Linked DNA regions of Homo sapiens: all the other regions are linked to region 4. Evidence: promoter capture Hi-C in 16 types of primary human blood cells and fetal thymus (Javierre and others, 2016). All regions are on one chromosome and are shown on one strand. The core of a region is centred on a gene start or on the middle of the fragment in contact, and the rest is flanking DNA. Distances in the headings are between cores, read along the strand shown. Region 1 has its middle 290 kb from the start of HGF. Region 2 has its middle 310 kb from the start of HGF. Region 3 has its middle 330 kb from the start of HGF. Region 4 holds the start of SEMA3C (semaphorin 3C).

Region 1 (5,487 bases), core at 2,089-4,588, 560 kb before region 4:
CGTGGTGGCGGGCACTTGTAGTCCCAGCTACTTGGGAGGCTGAGGCAGGAAAATGGTGTGAACCCGGGAGGCGGAGCTTGCAGTGAGCCAAGATCCCACCACTGCGCTCCAGCCTTGGGGACAGAGTGAGACTCCGTCTCAGAAAAAAAAAAAAAAAAAAAGAAAAAAAGAAATATGCTAACTGGCTGTCCATCAATCTTGTACATGGAACAACATGTCCTAGTAACAATCTCCATAACTCTGGATCAGGTACTTCCAGCTGCTATTCTGACCATGTTTCTCATTATGATGTTTCTTATTTATGACTATTTATTATGATCTCCTGACCTCGTGATCCACCTGCCTTGGCCTCCCAAAGTACTGGGATTTACAGGCGTTATTTATGACTCTTAAGTGCACGGCTTCTCTCATTCTAGCATCTTAATATCACCATTGCAATCATTGTGCCCAGTTTCTATAATGACCCCTCCTACTATCAGCCCTGGCCTACAGAAAACAGCTACCACTGAGGTTCTCAATGGTGATGCCACTCTCACCAATGAATTTCTTATTGATTTAGTAAGTGCAGTTTCTGTGGGTCCTCCTGTGGAACACAGCTTGGAGGTGAGTATTCTACCCTTATATGGTGTATTTACTCTAGAATCTCATTTTTGTGAGCTGTTTGATCCCTTCTTGACCATTTGCTATGAGAATTCTATAATTCTTCATTTGGTGTGGCCTTTTCATTTTTCCAAGATTCCAGGAATATGTTAACACTGTTTCTTGTGGTTTGTGCTAGGGTATTAATCAATATTCATATTGATAAATTCTTCCTTATTAATTTTATGTTCCAGAACTCTAGATCCCTCAACCTGGACACCCTCAGGATTTAGTCCCATATGTACTCTCCCAGCTTCTGCTGGTACACTCTAGCTAGGTTTTGCAGCTTCTTTGGTGCACAGCTCTCCTTCCCCCATAGAATCAGCTCTTTGTCAGTTGGGTTATATTTTGACTTGATCCTAGTTATTGGTCTGATATCCAGGAGAGGAGTTGGAGGTTCATCCTGAATGACCTGAAAGTAAAATTGCAAGGGATTGTCTTCAAGCCAGTAGGTAGCACTAGTTCTTAACAGGGAGGAATAGGCCACTTTTGTAGGCCCACAAAGTTCAGAGAAGTCTGAGTTTCAAGTTTATCAAGTGTCTCATTTCAGACGTCTTGATTCCAGGATTCACTTCTTTATAATGAAGATCCTGACCATGGTGGAGCTGACATCCATGAGAATTAAATTTTCATTGGAGCTCCACTATACTTATATGTCCTGGGCTTGAGCTTAGCTTTTTCTTGCCTCTGGCTGTTGCAGTTTTATTAGTTTCTGTAGAGGTGTCATGATTCCTTGATTCTTTATAATACTTGTGTCCTTGCATTTGCTGTGCATTTGAAGAAATGGTCCATTCGTTTGGCCTTTACAGGTGTTCATTGTAGGAACAGACCTTCACTAATAGTCTAGCCTGTGATTCTGAAAGGGCTGACAACTCCAGGCAGAACTTGCTGTGGTTTCTCTAGTTGGCTGGGCCACTGCCTTTGCTCTGATGGCTGGGCTCTGCTGTCCAGAGAGACCACTGGTTAGGCAGAGACCAATGGTTGGGCTCTGCTATTAGAGGAAGCTACTGGTTGGGCTCCGCTATTAGGAAGAGTTGCCGGCTTGGTACTGTGATGCTCTCTGGTCAGGGTAGTCAGAAGATGTATTCCTTGGCTGGGCAATTTTACTATTTGGAATCTGCACTTGGGCAGGGCTTCAGGCTGGGCTTTGAAAGTTGCTGCTTGTGATGGGCAAGACAAGAGCCTATGCTCCTTAAAAATGTGTGATTAAGGGTTGCCTCCATTAGGTCAGAGCTGTAGGGTGGACTTTTGCCTGAGTCAAGATGCTACTTGACTTCCTGCGTCAAGCAGGTTTAGTTCCTACACTCCTGCAAAATGCACACGGGAGGTTGTTGGGCAGGCTTTTTGGCTGAGCTAAGTTACTTACTCTTTGGACTCCTAGGTTTTACAGGTCTAGCCCTTGTGCCTCTTAGAAATGTATGCATGTGGCTGTCTCCCTGCCTCAGCAGGATTATAAGGCAAGCTTTTTGGATGAGTGGAGCCACTGCTTGACCCAAGATATCTAGCCTGTGTGATTCTCAAAATGCGCAGAGGGGGGCATCTCCCTACCTGGGCAGGGTTGTTAGAGTAGGCTGTGTGCCTGGCCATGGAGGCTAGCCATCTAGGGACTCAAGCAAGGCTGAACTTCCCACTGTGCTTCTGAAAAAGATCAGTTCAGCTTTCTGGGTGGGCTATGAAGTTGGCTGGTAACTCTGATTGGGCACCGCAGCTGGTGTGAACACAGAGGTGCCACACAGATCCATATGCTAGTCACTGTGGCCTCTGCCTTCTTTCTTTGTTTCTACTTGACCCCAGGTGGTCTAGCCATGCCTTTACCCTTTTCTTTCCCTATGAGGTGAGACAGGCGGGATTCCTGGAAAGAAAGCATCTCAAAATGCTAGGGAAGCTGAATGACTGCCTCCAGTTCTCTTTCCCCACTGCAGAAACTATGGGTCCAGGGTAATGCTCTTCAACCAGTGTTGTGCCAACTTCGTGGTGGCGGGGGGGGAGACCATTCTTCTGACCCTTCTCACTCAATTTTCACTTAGGTATGTGTACCACATTGTCTCAGGCTCGTTTCCAATATTGGGCTTTTGAAGAAGATGTTCTGGTCTATGGATAATTGCTAGATAAGCTTACAAGGGGTGGGGGGAGTGTGTGTAGCCTGAGACTTTTTACTCCGCCATATTGCAGCCATCCTGACAATGATAAAAACTCTTAACAGACTAGGTATAGAAGGAAGTTGCCTCAACATAATAAAGGCTATATGTGACAAACCAACAGCTAACATCATACTAAATGGTTAAAAATTGAAAGCTTTTCCTCTACCACCAGAAACAAAACAAAAATGCTTCTTAACACCACTTCTATTCAGCATAGTACTGGAGATCCTAGCTAGAACCATTAGGCAAGAAAAAGAACTAAAATACATTCAAATTAGAAAGGAAGACAACAAAATTGTTTGCAGATGACATAATTCTTCTTGTTTTAACTTGATATAAAAATAATCATGTGATATTTTTCCAATTATTTATTAATTGTATTGAGTGTCATATATTTGAGAAAACATATAAAAATCCATTAATATTTAAAATAAAATGTGTTGGATACTCTGGGGAAACAAGTCACGTTAAATCTTAAACTTTATTCAAGGGAGATTTACAGCTAACATATGCCATCTAGTGGCACTAAAAGAAACTTCACTTACAAATTCATAACATTTCCATTTCTTAGCGTACTATACTTCTGCTTATTCTTATGAATCTTTATATATGCCACCCTAAGGGAGAAATTCTATTGAATTGAAGTCCCATAGTTTTTCATAGATTTCTTACAATGCATATTTTTATGCATACAATGTCATGAGAAAAGTAATAATTTGTCATCAAATCATAATATAATCTATTTGTCTGAATTCCACGCTTCCAACCACCAACATAACTCTTTACAAGATGATCAGACCTGATCCCCTTTTTTCTATTACATGTTAATGTAAATATACACTTAGACTGATGCTCTACATAAATTATCTTGAAAATGTTATATTAAGAAATATCTAAAACTAGTTCAGTTTTTATACGATTCATGTTTCTGTTTTTATAAAGCAGAATGTTAAAAAGCTTTCAAGTTTCATTACATGGAACTTCTTGCCACATCTTTTTTTTTTCAACCTATAAATTGTTCATTGTCAAACATGTATCACACTTTTGAATTAAGGCATTGATCATCCCCATTCTTTGTACCTCACATTGGTGACTGAAAAATGTTGTGCTCTGCTGGCAGAATAGAAGCCTCCAGAAACCTGGTCCTGTGCTCTGACACAAGAACCTAGTGCTAGTGAACATGATGATTCTAGTCCTTCTCTTGCTATAATCAGGTGGCGTCCATCAGTGACTAACTCTACAACTAGAAAATTACCTCTGCATAGAAATAACTAAGGTAGAAGAAGGAGTTACAACACCAAATAAAGCAAGAGGAGAAAGGTATTTCTCAATAAATTGAACTATTCCCACAGTCATTTCTAAAGACTGGTGCTAAAGAAATTGTGTTGGGAGGCCGAGGCAGGCGGATCACGAGGTCAGGAGATTGAGACCATCCTGGCTAACACGGTGAAACCCTGTCTCTACTAAAAATACAAAACATTAGCCGGGCTTGGTGGCAGGCGCCTGTAGTCTCAGCCACTCTGGAGGCTGAGGCAGGGGAAAGGAGAATGGCGTGAACCCGGGAGGCGGAGCTTGCAGTGAGCCAAGATTGTGCCACTGCACTCCAGCCTGGGTAACAGAGCGAGACTCTGTCTCAAAAAAAAAAAAAAAAAAAAAAAAAAAAAAGAAAAAGAAAAAGAAAAGAAAAAAGAAATTGTGAGTTTGTGAATTACTTTTTTGTGTGTGCCTCATATCTCCTTCAGTTCTGCTCTGATCTTATTTCTTGTCTTCTGCTAGCTTTTGCATTTGTTTGCTCTTTCTTCTCTAGTTCTTTTAATTGTGATATTAGGGTGTCGATTTTAGATCTTTCCTGCTTTCTCTTACAGGAATTTAGTGCTATAAATTTCTCTCTACACACTGCTTTACATGTGTCCCAGACATTCTGGTACGTTGTGTCTTTGTTCTCATTGGTTTCAAATAATATCTTTATTTCTGCCTTCATTTTGTTATTTACCCAGTAGTCATTCAGGAGCAGGTTGTTCAGTTTCCATGTAGTTGTGCCGTTTTGAGTGAGTTTCTTAATCCTGAGTTCTAATTTGATTGTACAGTTTGTTGGGCCTTCTGTTCTTTTACATTTGCTTTACTTCTAATTATGTGGTCAATTTTAGAATAAGTGTGATGTGGTGCTGAAAAGAATGTATATTCTGTTGATGTGGGGTGGAGAATTCTGTAGATGTCTGTTAGGTTTGCTTGGTCCAGAGCTGAGTTCAAGTCTTGTATATCCTTGTTAATTTTCTGTCCTGTTGATCTGTCTAATATTGACAATGGGGTGTTAAAGTCTCCCGTTATTATTGTGTGGGAGTCTAAGTCTCTTTGCAGGTCTCTAAGAACTTGCTTTATGAATCTGGGTGCTCCTGTACTGGATGCATATATATATTTAGGACAGTTAGCTCTTCTTGTTAAATTAATCCCTTTACCATTATCTAATGGCTTTCTTTGTCTCTTGATCTTTGTTAGTTTAAAGTCTGTTTTATCAGAGACTAGGATTGCAATCCCTGCTTTTTTTTTTGCTTTCCATTTGCTTAGTAGATCTTCCTCCATCCCTTCATTTTGAGCATAAGTGTGTCCGCACGTGAGATGAGTCTCCTGAATACAGCACACTGATGGGTCTTGACTCTTTATCCAATTTGCCAGTCTGTGTCTTAATTGGGGCATTTAGCCCATTTAC
Region 2 (5,535 bases), core at 2,677-5,176, 540 kb before region 4:
CAGTACTTTTCAGTAAAACTTTTCTGGAACTTGCAAATGGTTATCAAAAGGTTTACAATGATTATGTTACTTAATGGAGTAATTTATTTCAAGTAATCTACCTTAACACTTTATCATAGAATAAGTACTAAATGTATTATATGCATTTTTGGTGCACTTGCAAATTCTGTTTGAAAAGTGGCAAATGATAAATAAACGCAAAGCTCCCAAAGAAGTCTGAAAATGAGATACATATTTATTGTCAAAAAATTCAGTTAGAAATTACATATAAAGAGAAAAATTTGAAACAGACTTAAATTACCAGTAGGGAAATGAGTTTTAAGATAAAGGCTTATATAGGAGTAGAATATTTTTGTAACAAAGAAAGTGCTTTTTGCAAATAGTCTACATTTTAAGTAGGAAAAAGAAAACTAAACGCAATGTGATTTGTATTTTTTTAAAAAAATAGATACCTAGATAAAAGCAAAACAAGAACTATAATGAAAATTTTCAAATTATTACGTCTTGGCAGTGGGAGTTTACAGAGATTTCTTTTGTTACCTTATGCTTTCCAAATATTCCAATAACATGATGTGATCCATACCATATTTAATTATGTATCATCATATAATTGTTTTTATAAATTTTAGTGAGATTTTTTTAAATTAACTTTAAAGGTATATAAAATTATTTTAAAGTACCATTCAAATGTTAAAATAATTGTAAAAATATTTTAGAATGTTATTCTGAAAGATCAAAAATTTTGTTTTAATAGATATTGAAAAAGTTGAAAAATAAGAGTTGAAATATGCTTCCAAGAACATGACAACTAAATTTAATATTGAATGCTGGATGGAATTCTGGGACTGAAAATGGATATTAGATAGAAAGGAAGGAAATCTGAATGAAGTGTAGACTTCTATTTATGACAATGTATTAATATTGGTTCATTAGTTGTGGCTAATATAGTTGTGACTAATGATATCTAATTAAACTAAAGAGCTTCTGCACAGCAAAAGAAACTACCATCAGAGTGAATAGGCAACCCACAAAATGGGAGAAAATTTTCACAATCTACTCATCTGACAAAGGGCTAATATCCAGAATCTACAATGAACTCAAAACAAATTTACAAGAACAAAACAAACAATCCCATCAAAAAGTGGGTGAAGGATATGAACAGACACTTCTCAAAAGAAGACATTTATGCGGCCAAAAAACACATGAAAAAATGTTCACCATCACTGGCCATCAGAGAAATGCAAATCAAAACCACAATGAGATGTCATCTCACACCAGTTAGAATGGCAATCATTAAAAAGTCAGGAAACAACAGGTGCTGGAGAGGATGTGGAGAAATAGGAACACTTTTACACTGTTGGTGGGACTGTAAACTAGTTCAACCATTGTGGAAGTCGGTGTGGTGATTCCTCAGGGATCTAGAACTAGAAATGCCATTTGACTCAGCCATCCCATTACTGGGTATATACCCAAAGGACTATAAATCATGCTGCTATACAGACACATGCACACGTATGTTTATTGTGGCACTATTCACAATAGCAAAGTCTTGGAACCAACCCAAATGTCCAACAATGGTAGACTGGATTAAGAAAATGTGGCACATATACACCATGGAATACTATGCAGCCATAAAAAATGATGAGTTCATGTCCTTTGTAGGGACATGGATGAAATTGGAAATCATCATTCTCAGTAAACTATTGCAAGAACAAAAAACCAAACACCACATATTCTCACTCATAGGTGGTAATTGAACAATGAGAACACATGGACACAGGAAGGGGAACATCACACTCTGGGGACTGTTGTGGGGTGGGGGGAGGGATAGCATTGGGAGATATACCTAATGATAGATGACGAGTTAGTGGGTGCAGCGCACCAGCATGGCACATATATACATATATAACTAACCTGCACATTGTGCACATGTACCCTAAAACTTAAAGCATAATAATAATAATAATAAAAACAGCAATGACTAAATTTCACAAGATAATTGGCATGGGATAGGCCCAAACTAGTCAGTATCTCCTGGCCTCTTCCAAGTCTCATTTTTCTTATCAATAAAATGAAAAATTTAAACTTAAAAAAAAAACAAAACAAGAAAAAATTGAATACGGAGTATTTGGGAAGTCTTGGCACTATCTTTACAACTTTTGTTTTTAAATTCCGGGGTACATGTGCAGGATGTGCAGGTTTGTTACATAGGTAAATGTGTGCCATGGTGGTTTGCTGCACCCATCATCAACCCATCACCTATAAATCAAAAAGTATTATAAAATGACCCATTCATTTAAAAAAATGCTTCCAAGGGGTCTTAGAACACCTTGTGCACCACTTTGTGCTGCTATAACAGGGTACAAAAGACTGTGTAAATTGTAGAAAAACAGGCATTTATTCTCTGACAGTTCTGAAGTCCGGGAAGTCCAAGATCAAAGCAGCAGCATGAGCTGAAGTCCTTCTAGCTGCACTCTCACAGAGTGGAAGATAGAAGAGCAAGAAAAGAACTTTGTGTCCTCCCATGGCAGAAAAACAGAAGAGAGAAAACCCACTTTCACAAGCTCTTTTTGAGATAGGAATAGCACTGGATAGTCTCAGGAGGATGGAAAAACCCAAACAACAGCAAAAACAAGAAAAAGACAGAGAAACCACAGGATTACAGAAAACCCAAAGTAGGAGAGAGAAAACAGCTAATAACACAGTCAGGGTGACATGTGCAGGACTCTTCCAAGCAAACCCAAATAAGGGAGAAAGGAGTCGGTAACCAGGGGTCCTTGAAATCCCCTTTTTCCAAAATACCTAATGATTATTCTACCCCCAAATTAAAGAAACACCCATAAAGCAGGAATGCTGGGTGGTCACAGTAGAAGTAGGAAAATACCAGGCAGCAATTTCACCTAGCAGCAAGACAGGAGCTATTAAAATTAGCTATAAGGGCAAGGATGGGCCTGGGCTGATAAGACCCTAACAAACAGGATAGGGGCTAAGCAGCTGAGGCTGGCTGGGTCCAATGTGGCATTGGATTTGACCAATGTCCTACCCCAAACCTAACTGTAGACTAATTACCATACTAAATCACTCACCTACCAATACCATGACAGATCCGAGCCTATCCATATTTAGTATAAAAATGGGTGGCACCCAAATTCTAAAAATTCTCTACCCTTTTCCTGGAAAAGCTCATGATTATTCTGTCCCCTAATTAAAAGAGCCCATAAAATTAGAAACTCAAACTCCATTGAGCACAACTCGTTCTCACGAACATGTGCACACTTCTCTCTTAACTGTATACTTTCACTTTGCAATAAAAGCTTCTTGCCTTTTGCTTCCTTCTGAGTGTTCCCTGAATTCTTTCTCGTGATGGTGTCAAGAACCTGGACACTGGATGGGGTGAGGGTCTTATCTGCATCTGGAGACCCACCTAAGCCCTCCAGCCACATCTCCATCGTGGCATTCAAGAGAGTGGAGCCCTCCCATTAGTCCCCACCTCCCAAAACTGTTACACTGGGGATTAAATTTCCAGCATATGAATCTCGAAGTACACAAGGTAAGTCTCAGCATTCATAAGAATTGTAAATGGATTATTTAATGTTAAAAAAAGTAATGCATGCATATGGTATATAATTACAACAGTACAAATAAGATATATCTCTGTCACTTCTACAAATACACTAATTTTCTTCTAATTTATGTGTATCTACCTGATGCACTAAAGCTCTGAGAATCATGAATCATTTCAAAAAAATAAAAAGCTAAATTCTTGTGTCTACTCACCAGAGAGCCTTCTGAACAATAAGAAGCGGTTTGATGAAGAATTCTAAATGTGGGTATGAGCAGATTCATCTAAGTTGTAGTTGTGGGATCTTAAACCAACCCTACTACTAAGCCCTCTCCAGAAGACAAAACAGAAATTAACTATTGTGTTGCTAACCCAGGATACTATAATAAAACTATAATAAAAATAAAAAATGTTTTAAATGTGCTAAATATCTTAGCAAGCAATTCTTTGCCTGATCTCTAAATTTCCTAGTGTAGAGGGCTTGTGGGCTCTGTACAACCATATATACTTGTTGAGTATTTTGATGCCTTCCTGTGACTACTCACTTTTTAAAGATTGTATTGGCCAATGTGGAAACATAAGAAAAGCAAATGCGAAGGATGGCTAATTACATTGAATTAACGGCAGCAATAGTGATCTGACCTCCTTAGACTAGATACTGTGACCGTCTCTAGATGTTTCATTTGATGACTGCAGAGATCATGCATATGGAAATTGTTGTTATTATCTCTGAAGTGGATAAGGTAGCGAGCATTTTGGAAGACTGGATGTGAAAACAGAGATGCAGTTATACCAGGAGAGAGCATTACAAGAAAAGATTAAGACTTACTCAAAGTAGTGATCAGTTATCAGCCCCAAGCAGATTCAGCTAATGAGTGCCTTCAACCACTAAAATGAGATTCATTGTTTAAGAATTCTCCTGGGTCATCATAAGAGACTATCAATAATTGAGATTTGGGAGCTAAACATAAGCTTATTCAGAAGCAGTGTGGACTGCATTAAAATTTGATTCTATCTAATAATGCTATGATAAGTGAAAAGCCTCATTTGACTTCCTTTTCTGTTTTGAGCTGTGTGTGTGTGTGTGTGTGTGTATGTGTGTGTGTCTTAAGCATCTGCAATGTAAATAAATGAATCATAATACACATCATCCCCAGAATCTGTTTTTCCTAGCATGCTCTGCAATAGTTTCGTAGAATTACTGTTACAGAATAGTTTATCCATAATACTCAGAATGTAACTTCTGTTTCTCTGCTTAGCAGCAAAAAATCAGTTGAATGTCCAAAATATATGGTAGTATATTTTGCTCATTTAAAACAGAATGATGCATACCATTTTCTGCAATTTTCTATAGCACTTATTTTTGTTTCACTCAATTTCTAATGATTTCTAGTGATTTTCTTCCCCAATTTTTGTTTTTGCTTTTGTTTTCACTCATCTAACATTGGTGAAGGATCAAGGAATATGACAAAAAGCTATAATAAACATATATTTTCATGCCCCCTCCTGCACACACACAAAAATCACACATGGCCTGCCATTCTGCACATCTGCTATTCTGCCTAATTATCTGTGATCAATAAATAGATCAACAAACAAATAAAAAGTAACCTTATTGATGTACTTACATTATAAACATCAAAATAAACACAAAACCTGCCACAAGGGAATAACAAAACACTATTACATTTTTTTAGAAGAAGCCATCACATCCTCATTAAATGATCTGTGGTTTCAGAAGGTTATTTGAATCAGTTGCATAGTCTTAAATATTATTCTAGTGTTTTATTTTTTCTTTTGTTTTTCTTTTAATTTCTAAAACAATGCTTCTGTAAAGCAACTATGTGAATGGGGCTTGCACACCTCCAACACTGGGAGCATGACTGACCTAGGACCCAGCATCTTTACTCTGAAAGTCATTGTTGAGTATGGATGCGCTGTTCCCAGCCAATGACTGAAGGGAGCAGGGATCT
Region 3 (5,041 bases), core at 575-3,074, 520 kb before region 4:
AAAAAAAAAAAAAAAAAAAGAAGTGCTCTGGACACCTTTGAGAAAAATCCAGCTTTGAGAGTCCCTTAAACTTTTGAGGATATGTTTTTGACAAGTCATGGGGCAGCCCAAAGGGGAATCCAGCCTAGGATAGGGCAACAGCCTTGGCAAAGGTTTGGAGGTGGGAGGGGAGGCAGAGCAAAAAAAAAAAAAAAAAAAAAAAAAAAATTACGTTTACTCTGCCTTCAATGACAGAGAAACCATGGGCTTAAATATTTGCATACACATTGATCTAAGGGTTTCTAATCAAACTTGAACTCATTTAGGATACTGCTAGTAATCCAGAAAGCGGGTAGGAGAGCTAATATTGGTTAAAGGGGAAGCTTCATGAGCTTTACTACACGCTACCAGGTTTCCTAATCCTATTTGCCCACATGTTGCCATTCCACAAAACTCCAAAGATAAGAATTGTCTTAGGTATAAATATTGCCTCATGATTACAGGGATGGAATTGGGCAAAGGTTGGAACATAGATACTAATCCACATTTACTTAAAGTCAAAGAATGTAAAATATTACAGGCTGCCATAATACTTACTATAACTTAAATAATACACAGTCTTTTATTTTGTAGTGGGGAAAAACTATACAATAGAAAATTTTCAATTAAGAAATTTATAAGCCCCTTCAGAATGATTACTTAGTATTAGAATCATAACAGAGTGTAAGTATTGGATATTAATAAACCTTTTAAAAATCAATAGGTAACACACATGAGGCATTCTAATTCAGACACGAATTTCAAGAATTCAAAAACATTACTCCTATCAGCAAAAAAACATTGTGTCTGCAGTTTATCTTATCAGTCATGGTTGTATGTCAGGGTCTAATTTTAAAAAATGGCTTGCTAGTTGTAGATGCCTGAGATATTTATTTTCTGTACAGAGGCCAGATCCACTGTGTGTTTTATTGGAAAAATCTTGTGTTGCATTTGATTATTCCATCTCATTGTCACAAAATCACCATGAAGTCCTTATAATGTACTTCCACACATTCCAAAAAGAATTAGCCCCAGTAAAGAGGTTTCTTTTCTTTGGGGATTTAATCATTGTGTATGTTGAGAAAAATACACATCTTTGTAAAAATTATTCTAAGAGATGTTAAATTCTGATCTTTCTCCACATTAGAGTGCTTTTAAGTCTTTATGTTAACATTTTAAAAAGTTATATTATATTCAAAGATTAAAGTATTTTTCAAATATCCTATGAGCTCCTTTTAAAGGTATTCTTTGTTTCTGTTTTTGTAAGATTTAATTTTTTGGAGCAGTTTTAGGTTCACAGCGAAATTGAGAGGTACAGAGATTTCTCATATACCCCTGTCCCAACTCATGCATAGCCTTCTGCATTTTCGACACCTTTCACCAGAGTGGTACATTAGCCACCATCAACGGAGCTGCATCAACATATCATTATCACCCAAACCCCAGAGTTTACATTAAGGTTTGCTGTTGGTGTTGTACATTCTATGGGTTTGAACAAACGTATAATGACATGTATCCATCATTATAGTATCATACAGAATATTTTCACTGCTTTAAAGATCATCTGTGTTCTTCCTCTTCATACCTCCTTCCCCACAAGCCCTGTCAACCACTGTCTCCACTGTCTGCAAAGTTTTGCCCTTTCAATAATGTCATATAGTTGCAGTCATACAGTATGTTGCCTTTCTAGATGTCTTACTTCACTTAATAATGTGCCCTTAGTTTTCCTCCATGTTTCTTCATGGCTTGATAGCTCATTTCTTCCCATGGTCTGGATGCACTACAGTTTAATTATTCACTCACCTACCGAAGGTCATCTAGGATGCTTCCAAGTTTGGGCAATTATAAATAAAGCTGCAATAAACATCCGTAGGCAGATTCTGTTTCTTAGTTCTTTGTAGCAAGATTTTTACTTGTCCTTAAAAATCTAACATTATAATACATACTTAATAAATAATAATAATAAATTTGCTCTATATAGAATACAAAGGGTAAAATATGAGAGTTTCTCCTCCTCCAACTCCCTCCACCCTTAAATCTCCCTCCACCTTTCCCAAGTCCCAAAGGTAACTGCTGCTAAAATTTGCATCATATATGTGTCAAACATATGTTTCAATATTTTTAGTGGGCTGGGTAATTTAAGAACAAATGAGAGAAGGATACTGCGATTTTAAAAATTACTTTCAATGCAGAAAAAATGCATTTAAACTGTTCAAAATAGAGATAATTACATAAATTATCCAAGTTTATTATGTAGATATACATAGTTTGTCTTGCTGTATCCTAATTTATATGAATATATCTTAGACAGATACATGAGTTGTTGAGATATATTTCTAGATGTACATAGTATGTCTGTTTTATTTTTAAATTATGTTCTAAAAATACTTTCATAAAAAATTAAACTCAAAATCTTCCATACATATTTTTGACAAAAACTAAAATGTCAGCTTTATTTCTGAAGAACTAAACTACAGATATAAAATAGCTAGACAGTTACTTTTCTTAAAAAAAGAAAAAAGAAGTCTCATTTCTCTTGTCTTTTTTAATAAAAATAAGTGTTTTATAACTCAAGATAATGTTTCTAGAAAATAAAGGGTCATCAACAATATACTTTTAAATATTATGATCATCTTGTATAATTTAATAATATCGAGAGCTAAAGCTCAATTTTAAAGTTGTTTTTAAATTAATTTTGAATTACATTTTTAAAAAACAAAAGATAAAAAAGCATTTTTTTGATTATTCAATGATTGGATAGATTCACAATTTTCCTTGTCTCTTGGAATCTATTTATTTGACTTTAACTGAAACATTCTCACCCCGACTTTATCAGTTCATGGGTTCTTAATTCCAACAACTTTCCAGGTCTGAAAAGAATTCTTAGTTCTTTTTCTACAGCCTTCCTCTTCATTTGCTAACCATGTTTCAACAAGCTACTGTGTTTACTTTTCATCTCCTGCTTCAAAATTTTCTGTGGTTTCCCTTCCTTCCTTGTAGAAGTTTTACAAATAAATCTTCAGAGTATAAGAGAATAATGTCTTCTTTTGAAACTTCAGAAAAATAGTTATATGCAGTAAAGGATTGGCTTTCTCACTACATTTAGGCAGAAAATATCAAATAAAGGAGAACATTTTAGCCCCAGAGAGGTAAATTTAGCTTAAGAAAAAAAATATTGAAAGTTGAGTGAGCCTATTTTATTTCAGAAGTGAAGAAAAATGTCAAAAATAAAAGCCTAATAAGAAAATAATAATTATACCTAAGCTTCATAATGGCTGCAAGTGTGTTATTAAACATATATAGTTGTCTAAATGAAGTGTTTCTTTCACAGATGCAACAAAATAATGATCCAAAAGTAATGAGACACCTCCAGTGACCTCCACCACCCCAGCCCTGCTCTCCTCCTCAACCCCTTGCCATGTTCCTCACTCTTGCCACAGGCGTTCTCTTTGTACCCCAAATAGGCTATGTCACTCTCAGGACCTTTGTGTACTTGCTGTCCTTCTCTCCTGTGGCTCTCCCTCAGTATTTGCTCTGGTGACTTTTCCACATTCAGGATTTAGCTCAAGTAGTATTTCCTCACCAAACTATCTAGTTAGCTTCAATACTGTTGGTTTGCTTTCTATCATTTTACCTGTTTTAATAGCAATTAAAACGACCTGAAATTATCATTTAATTTAATGTTTATATTAATTAAATGCTCATTTAATTGTCTATTGCCTGTCTTCTCCCTAGATTTAATCTTTATGTGAGTAGGATCTTTGTCTTGTTCCCCTTCTGTAGCCCAATTGCAGCAGCCTGAATGGCACATAATAGTTACTGAATACATATTTTTATAATTATTTTATTCTATGAATGCTTTTCCCATCTACACATCAGTGCTCCTTGATTGCACTTCAAGGATCACATAATTGACAAGTGGGAAGACTTCACAGTCATTGAACCCAATTATCTTTTCAATGTTAGCATCACCCAAAACTGTCCAATTTGAAGAACCTGCCCAGGTTGAATTTTTTCTGTCATGGGAATTCAATACCTCCCAAAGACTTTCTTTTCAATATCATTGTAAATGTATTTCACAGAGTAAACCTAAGTTAATTTATTAATTCAACAAATATTTATTAATCAAAGACCCAATACATCCTACGGAATGCTCTAAATATTTGGTGTGTATCATTGAACAGAAAAACAACAAAAATCCTCATTCTCATGGGTCTTACATTCTAGAAGTAAGAGATAAACTGTTGCACTTTGGGATGCCGAGGCGCGCGGATCATGAGGTCAGGAGATCAAGACCATCCTGGCTAACATGGTGAAACCCCGTCTCTACTAAAAATAGAAAAAAATTAGCCTGGCGTAGTGGCGGGCCCCTGTAGTCCCAGCTACTCGGGAGGCTGAGGCAGGAGAATGGCGTGAACCCGGGAGGCGGAGCTTGCAGTGAGCCGAGGTGGCGCCACTGCTCTCCAGCCTGGGCGACAGAGTGAGACTCCATCTCAAAAAATAAATAAATAAATAAATAAATAAATAAATAAATAAATAAATAAATAAACTGTTAAATATAATATTTTTAAAGCATCCCACTGTAATAAAAGGTGAAACATAGAAGAGAGTGAAGGTGATCAGTAGCTACAGAGTCAGGGCAGGTTGAAATTTTAGAGTAAATTTAAAGTAAATTTTAAAGTTCACAGTAGATCTTGTACAGGTCAAGGAGATGTGTCACAATATGTGGGGGGTCATTGTAGGCAAAGATAACTGCCTTGAAGTGGAGAGAAGGCCTGTTCTGTCCAGAAACAGCAAGGAGGCTTGTGTGACTAGACAGTGTCAGTGCAGTGGAGAGAAGACGAGGAGGCAAGTGGTAAGTTATTTGTGTGTAGCTCGGGATAGTGGTGGTTAGAGTGTCGTAGGATGTTGTTGGCTATTTTAGGAACTTTAACTTTCCCTATGAATGCAAAGGGGTCTTTTGTGCTGTGTAAAGTAATGACGTTATCTCACTTATGATTTAAACGTTCCGTCTGGCTGTTGT
Region 4 (5,630 bases), core at 2,983-5,482:
TAGAGACAGAGAGCTTCAGATCCAATATGATTCATAAAAGCTGCTGGCTTTCCTCAAGACGTGACTGTGGATGGGTGTGCATATACTCCACTAGCAAACATTAACTGTGGGATTCTCTGCAACTGCAGTTGTATATAATCTCAAATACATATACTCTGTCCTCACTGAGGCTTCACATGAAATATTCCAAGAAGGCAAAACAAATAGAAAGTTTACATTTTGTCCTTGTGATGAAAATGTGAATGATCATAATAACTCTATTACAACCTTTGTCATGCACACATGACATTTTTGTACTAAGGAAGTAAATTCACTAAGGGATTCTTACTACTGAAATTCTTTACTATTCTACTTTTACATGAAATATTGTAATATATAAACATTAGAGGCAATATGCTTTTATTTTGGTTGAGTTGCGAAATATTGCGCTTAACATACTTGATATGTTTAAAGGTGTTTAAGGAAATACTGAGGACTTAAACTTTGAACTTTGTAATAGCTTATACACTCACCTCGTTTAAAATTATAAATGTAAAACAGAGTGAACCATGAAACCTTTCTAGCCAATTTTCCTCTCCAGAGCAAACCACTGTTGCCAGTTTATTTTGTTTAATGTCAAGAACCCTACAATTTGAGAAGCATAGAGTGGTACATATCAACAGAGAAAAAACAGTCAGCAATACAGATTAGCAATAGATTAAGAATGAAAATAGAGATACACTCATCTTATTGAAAAATTAGAAATGATTTGATAGAGGAAATATTAAAGCCTATTTGCTGTGCAGGTAGCAGTTTCACACACAGATTTCTAGACCAGACCTGTTTGACCGGCTTGGTCTCAGAGCTGCTAATGTAACCCAAGGAGACGTAAGGCTGATGTAAATAAAGTAAGTAACCATTGGAAGTTGAGACTTTCCAAAGATACAGTTCAGGAAACTTAAAAGGATGGCATATGGAAGTTGAGTGAAGGAGAAAGAGAGGGAAGTAGAAAAGAGGAGAAAAATGTTAAGCAAAAAAGGTAAGAGGAAGTATTGAAACTTATTGAAAAACCTGAGACATTACGGCAATCACGCTTGAGTTTCTCTTCCTATTCTGATATTTACTACCCATTTGACTTTGGGCAAACCTTCAACGTTCTCTCATTGAAAATTGTAACTTCATTAAAGAATGCTATGCAGATAATAAGCAAAGTACCTCGCAAATACACAATCTATTTTCTATTACAAATATCAGTTTTTATGACTAAATAATAAGACAATTTTTAACCTCTGAATGATTAATATTCTCTGGTTAGGGTAAAGTTTATTTACATGACTCATCTGTATAATAGGGAAAAATCTGTTTTCTTTAAATTTGAAATAAGATAATGTATAGCTGCAGAAACTCCTGGAGAAAAGTATGTAACTCAACATCGGTGCTAGAGTTTTAAGTTAAATAGCATTCCTCAGGACCATCAAAAACATAAAATATTAAAAATATGCCCACTACACCTTGGCAGGCAGAGACACTTCAGTGTGTAAGATACTGCACCATTTCTAAAACGTCTTAATAAAAGTTATCCTAAGTATTTTAGTTTGGCCGCTCGTCTGAAACGTTTTGCTGGGTGCAAACATTGTAATTAGTGCTCTCTAAATTTAGTTGTGCCACTACTCCTGTAGATCCATTTAGTGTCCCCCTTACCGAAAACAGCGTTCTCAATTAGCTGTTGTTTTCCACTTGTAAGGACAGTCAAAGCTGAAGTCTTAAAAAAGTGGTAGTGCCCAGAAATGTTTCTTAGGCAAGTCTTGTTTTGTCAAGGTGTTTTAAGCAGTGTGGGGAAATGTGGGCAGAGATTAATCTTAGGGGCTTCTAGTGCCACTGTTAAAATTCCACTCTGTGGCCTAAGTCTCTGGCAAGCATGAGCACTGTGTCCTTGCGCTTGAATCTATCTTGGCTAAAGCCTATCAGTATTTTTATGATTCATTTTGAGGTGTGGCCAACTGTAAACGTCTCAGAGCTAAGCAAATACCATTAAATCCCAGGAGCACATTGAAAAGAGGTTTATTTGAGCAATATTGAGGGAATTTCGGCACAAATTTCATGGGCTGTGATTAAATCTAAGCTATTTGTCAAGGCCTCCAAACCCCTGAATGTGTAACAGATTGAGCTAATTCATTGGTGTTTGTAAATTGAGTTTGGAATTAAGCTCCTTTGTAAATACACCGTTTGAGATGCATTTCATCTTGCAACTCTTTATCGTGGTTTTCTCAAACTTAAAATGTATAAACGAATTCCATCTTACGTGAATTTGCTGATCAATTTCTAACAGCTCCACATTTCTAAATTAATTTAATCCACACACTCATCTTTCTAATGATTTATTCTTCTCCCTGCTTAATATATAAATGCCGAATGAGATATCAGAAGGAGGATAATAGTGGAGAGTATATAACCTGGATCTTACTCAGTTTCAGAAGTATTTCAGAGAAGCACGCACAGTGCTTATTCACATTGACATCTGGATTTTAATATTGTCAGTTTTTGGGGGGTTAAATTCCTTATTACAAATTTATGTCAAGGATCTTCTCACGCATCATCACAAAAAATAATTTTAACTGTTGTTACTATATTAATTTTTTGACGTTTGGAGATAATATTAGCCCTGGAATAGTATTTTTGAACTCATAAATTTGCATTATTTGACTTGATCCTTCGTTCCTTGACTATGCAGCGTGAGTCTGAGACACGTGTATGTTTACTGAACACAAGAGGTGGGCCCCAGACACATGAAAGATGTGTCTCACTCACCTCTTCCTCCTACCTGAGATTTCATTCAACTTTCCCACTGAACAATGATTTTGCACCCCCAGAGGGGTTTTCTATGATACAGTTTATAAGAATTTAATGATTGTTTCATTATGTGAATTGTCAGGTATAAGGTGGAGATATTACACTCCACGTTCCTTCTGTAGAGTGACATCTGCTGGGCTGTGCCCCACAGTGATTTTAAGCAAGTGCCTGCTTGTTTTATGGGGATCAAAGCTCATTTCTCCCGATGTTTAAACATCTAGTTTATTGTGGTCCGGAGAAGTAATTTTCACTTAAACATCAAAGTCAGTTCCAGAGTTTAACGAGTGTACCTGAAAGTAATGCTGGAAAAATACCTCTGATGTATTTCTGTAGATGTGTGGTTATGGCAATCTGTTGGCATAACTCAGAACAGCCTCTCCACATAGAATTGTCAAATAATTTCTTCGTGTAATTATGTTTGGGAGTATGGTTGGGGACAACGTACTGGATATGAGTCAACGTGGAGGGGTCAACAGAATTACTGCTTTCAGGGCATTAAGGAAACTCAATAGGAAACAATACCCATTAAAAGGATACACTTGTGCAACAAGATTGTCGTTTATCTTGACCTGTTTTAGAAAACACGCAACAGAGGCCCGGCGCGGTGGCTCTCGGCACTTTGGGCGGCTGAGGCGGGCGGACCATTAGGTCAAGAGATCCAGACCATCCTGGCCCTGTCTCTACTAAAAATACAAAAATTAGCTGGGCGTGGTGGTGGGAGCCTGTAGTCCCAGCTATTCAGGAGGCTGAGGCAGGAGAATCGCTTGAACCCGGGAGGCGGAGGTTGCAGTGAGCCATGATCACACCACTGCACTGCACTCCAGCCTGGCGACAGAGTGAGATTCCCTCTCCAAAAACAAAACAAAAAACAAAAAACAAAAAACAAAAAAAAAACGCAGCAGAATAAGGACAAAACTCACGTCCTTTTAAAAACGCATCTCTTTGCCTTAAAAGGCTGCAGTGATCCTTCCCTGGCAAAAATAAAAAACCACAACTGCTTTGCACTTTGATATTTACGGCCAGGCAAAGCCTGTGTAAGTCTTCGAGAGCCGCCGGCAACAAAAACCGTGGAGCGCACCCAGCAAGTTGCTCACTCCGCCGCGGACTGCGAAAGGAGCAGGGTTGCGGAGCTAGGGCTCCAGCCTGCGGCCGCGCATTCTTGCGTCTGGCCAGCCGCGAGCTCTAAGGGTCGGCCCCGCCCGGTCCGCCCCCGCGGCTCCCTGCCAGGCTCTCGCGGGCGCGCTCGGGGTGGGGCCTCGCGGCTGGCGGAGATGCGGCCGGGGCTGCGCGGTGGTGATGCGAGCCTGCAGGGCGGCGCGCCGGGGCAGCCGGAGCCGCGCGCCGCGGCGCTGTAATCGGACACCAAGAGCGCTCGCCCCCGGCCTCCGGCCACTTTCCATTCACTCCGAGGTGCTTGATTGAGCGACGCGGAGAAGAGCTCCGGGTGCCGCGGCACTGCAGCGCTGAGATTCCTTTACAAAGAAACTCAGAGGACCGGGAAGAAAGAATTTCACCTTTGCGACGTGCTAGAAAATAAGGTCGTCTGGGAAAAGGACTGGAGACACAAGCGCATCCAACCCCGGTAGCAAACTGATGACTTTTCCGTGCTGATTTCTTTCAACCTCGGTAAGCTAAATTGGTCATTTTCCGCATTACAGATTTAGCAAAGTATAACTTTTTTGGCCTGTATATTGATTTTTCATACATTGGTATGCTCAAGCCTGGACATTTTCTTAAGAACACACGCGGTTTGTCAGGGAAGCTTTCCCCTTGCTGAGAGCCCTGCTCGAGTTGTTTCTTTAGGCGGTGACACCTGCGGAGAGTTTCAAGTTGAGTATTACAGTGCCTTCAAAGGCAAAATTGCTCCAGAGGAGATAAGAGAATTCTTTTCTTAATGTGTTGTTAGTTTGCGATCAGCAGAAGTGAAAACACCAAGAGGAACGTCTGTGTCTGAGTTAAAGGGAAGAAGTTGTAAGATACTGTTGGGGAGGCGGGGGTGTATTTAAGACACTTGGCTTTCAGTCTTTCACTCCTCATCACTAGGTGGGATGTAAATCAAATTGCCCTGTAGACTATCTTCGTTTCACCTGCCATTGTATCACCAGTATTCTTTGCAATTGGTTGTATATGTACTTTTGGGAGAAACATATAAGGTAAGATACCAATATGTAAAAAAAATGTGTAAATAATATCAACTTGCTCAGTAAACATAACAAAGGTTAGGCATATTAATAGTTTTTTTCTTTTGGCTTTAACTATGAAGTCAACAGAACCAAGGGGTAAATTACTGAGGGAAAGTCACCCATAAAATCAGTTTCTTTCTAAGTTAATTTAGGGATGACAGGGTGAAGAGGTTGTGGAAGCAGGAAGAAACTGTTTCTTTTGAAAATTACCAACACAAACATCTCTAGAGTTTCCTCCATCTGTGTGGTAAAAGAAGCGTACAATTTCATTTCTAACTCTCATAACATATGCACCACCTAGGAAATCTACTTACAATTTTTGTTTAAAATTGCATATTCCATTTAATTCTTTTTATTCTGTATTAATGAAGCTGTCTTTTTCAGTTGTTAGTGGTTCTTACAAAGAATTTAATAATTTTGACTATGAAATTTTAATTTGAAAAGCCAAATAATGAAGATCAGCATTGTTGTAACCTGTAAAAATAAATTTCTTTACTGGACTCTTGGGTCACTTTATTGTGTAATTATGGTAGAAGCAAAATGATTGTGTTTCTTTAATGGTCCTGAGTTTATTTTACATGATGTAGCCACTAGAGCTCCTGTAGGTTTATGGTAACA

The links. Contacts are between HindIII fragments. The CHiCAGO score rates a contact against its expected background, and 5 or more counts as called.
Region 1: a fragment that was not itself captured here is called in contact with the fragment with the promoter of SEMA3C in region 4 in 2 of 17 cell types (M1 macrophages and megakaryocytes); the score reaches 6.1 in M1 macrophages.
Region 2: a fragment that was not itself captured here is called in contact with the fragment with the promoter of SEMA3C in region 4 in 8 of 17 cell types (megakaryocytes, M2 macrophages, M0 macrophages and 5 more); the score reaches 30.7 in megakaryocytes.
Region 3: a fragment that was not itself captured here is called in contact with the fragment with the promoter of SEMA3C in region 4 in 7 of 17 cell types (megakaryocytes, erythroblasts, M2 macrophages and 4 more); the score reaches 18.4 in megakaryocytes.

Annotation. Positions count from the first base shown.
Region 1 is chr7:81,480,603-81,486,089 of GRCh38, reverse strand. No RefSeq gene overlaps it. Among named protein-coding and RNA genes, the nearest start is that of HGF, 290 kb to the left of the region's middle. The HindIII fragment of the contact is 803 bases long and covers 2,937-3,739 here.
Region 2 is chr7:81,461,971-81,467,505 of GRCh38, reverse strand. It overlaps the pseudogene EIF4EP4. Among named protein-coding and RNA genes, the nearest start is that of HGF, 310 kb to the left of the region's middle. The HindIII fragment of the contact is 1,220 bases long and covers 3,317-4,536 here.
Region 3 is chr7:81,437,752-81,442,792 of GRCh38, reverse strand. No RefSeq gene overlaps it. Among named protein-coding and RNA genes, the nearest start is that of HGF, 330 kb to the left of the region's middle. The HindIII fragment of the contact is 2,920 bases long and covers 365-3,284 here.
Region 4 is chr7:80,917,653-80,923,282 of GRCh38, reverse strand. SEMA3C (semaphorin 3C) reads left to right here and starts at 4,232. Exons shown (of 18, transcript NM_006379.5): 1 at 4,232-4,455. RefSeq lists a silencer at 3,966-4,095 and an enhancer at 4,643-4,712. The HindIII fragment of the contact is 5,149 bases long and covers 1-4,593 here.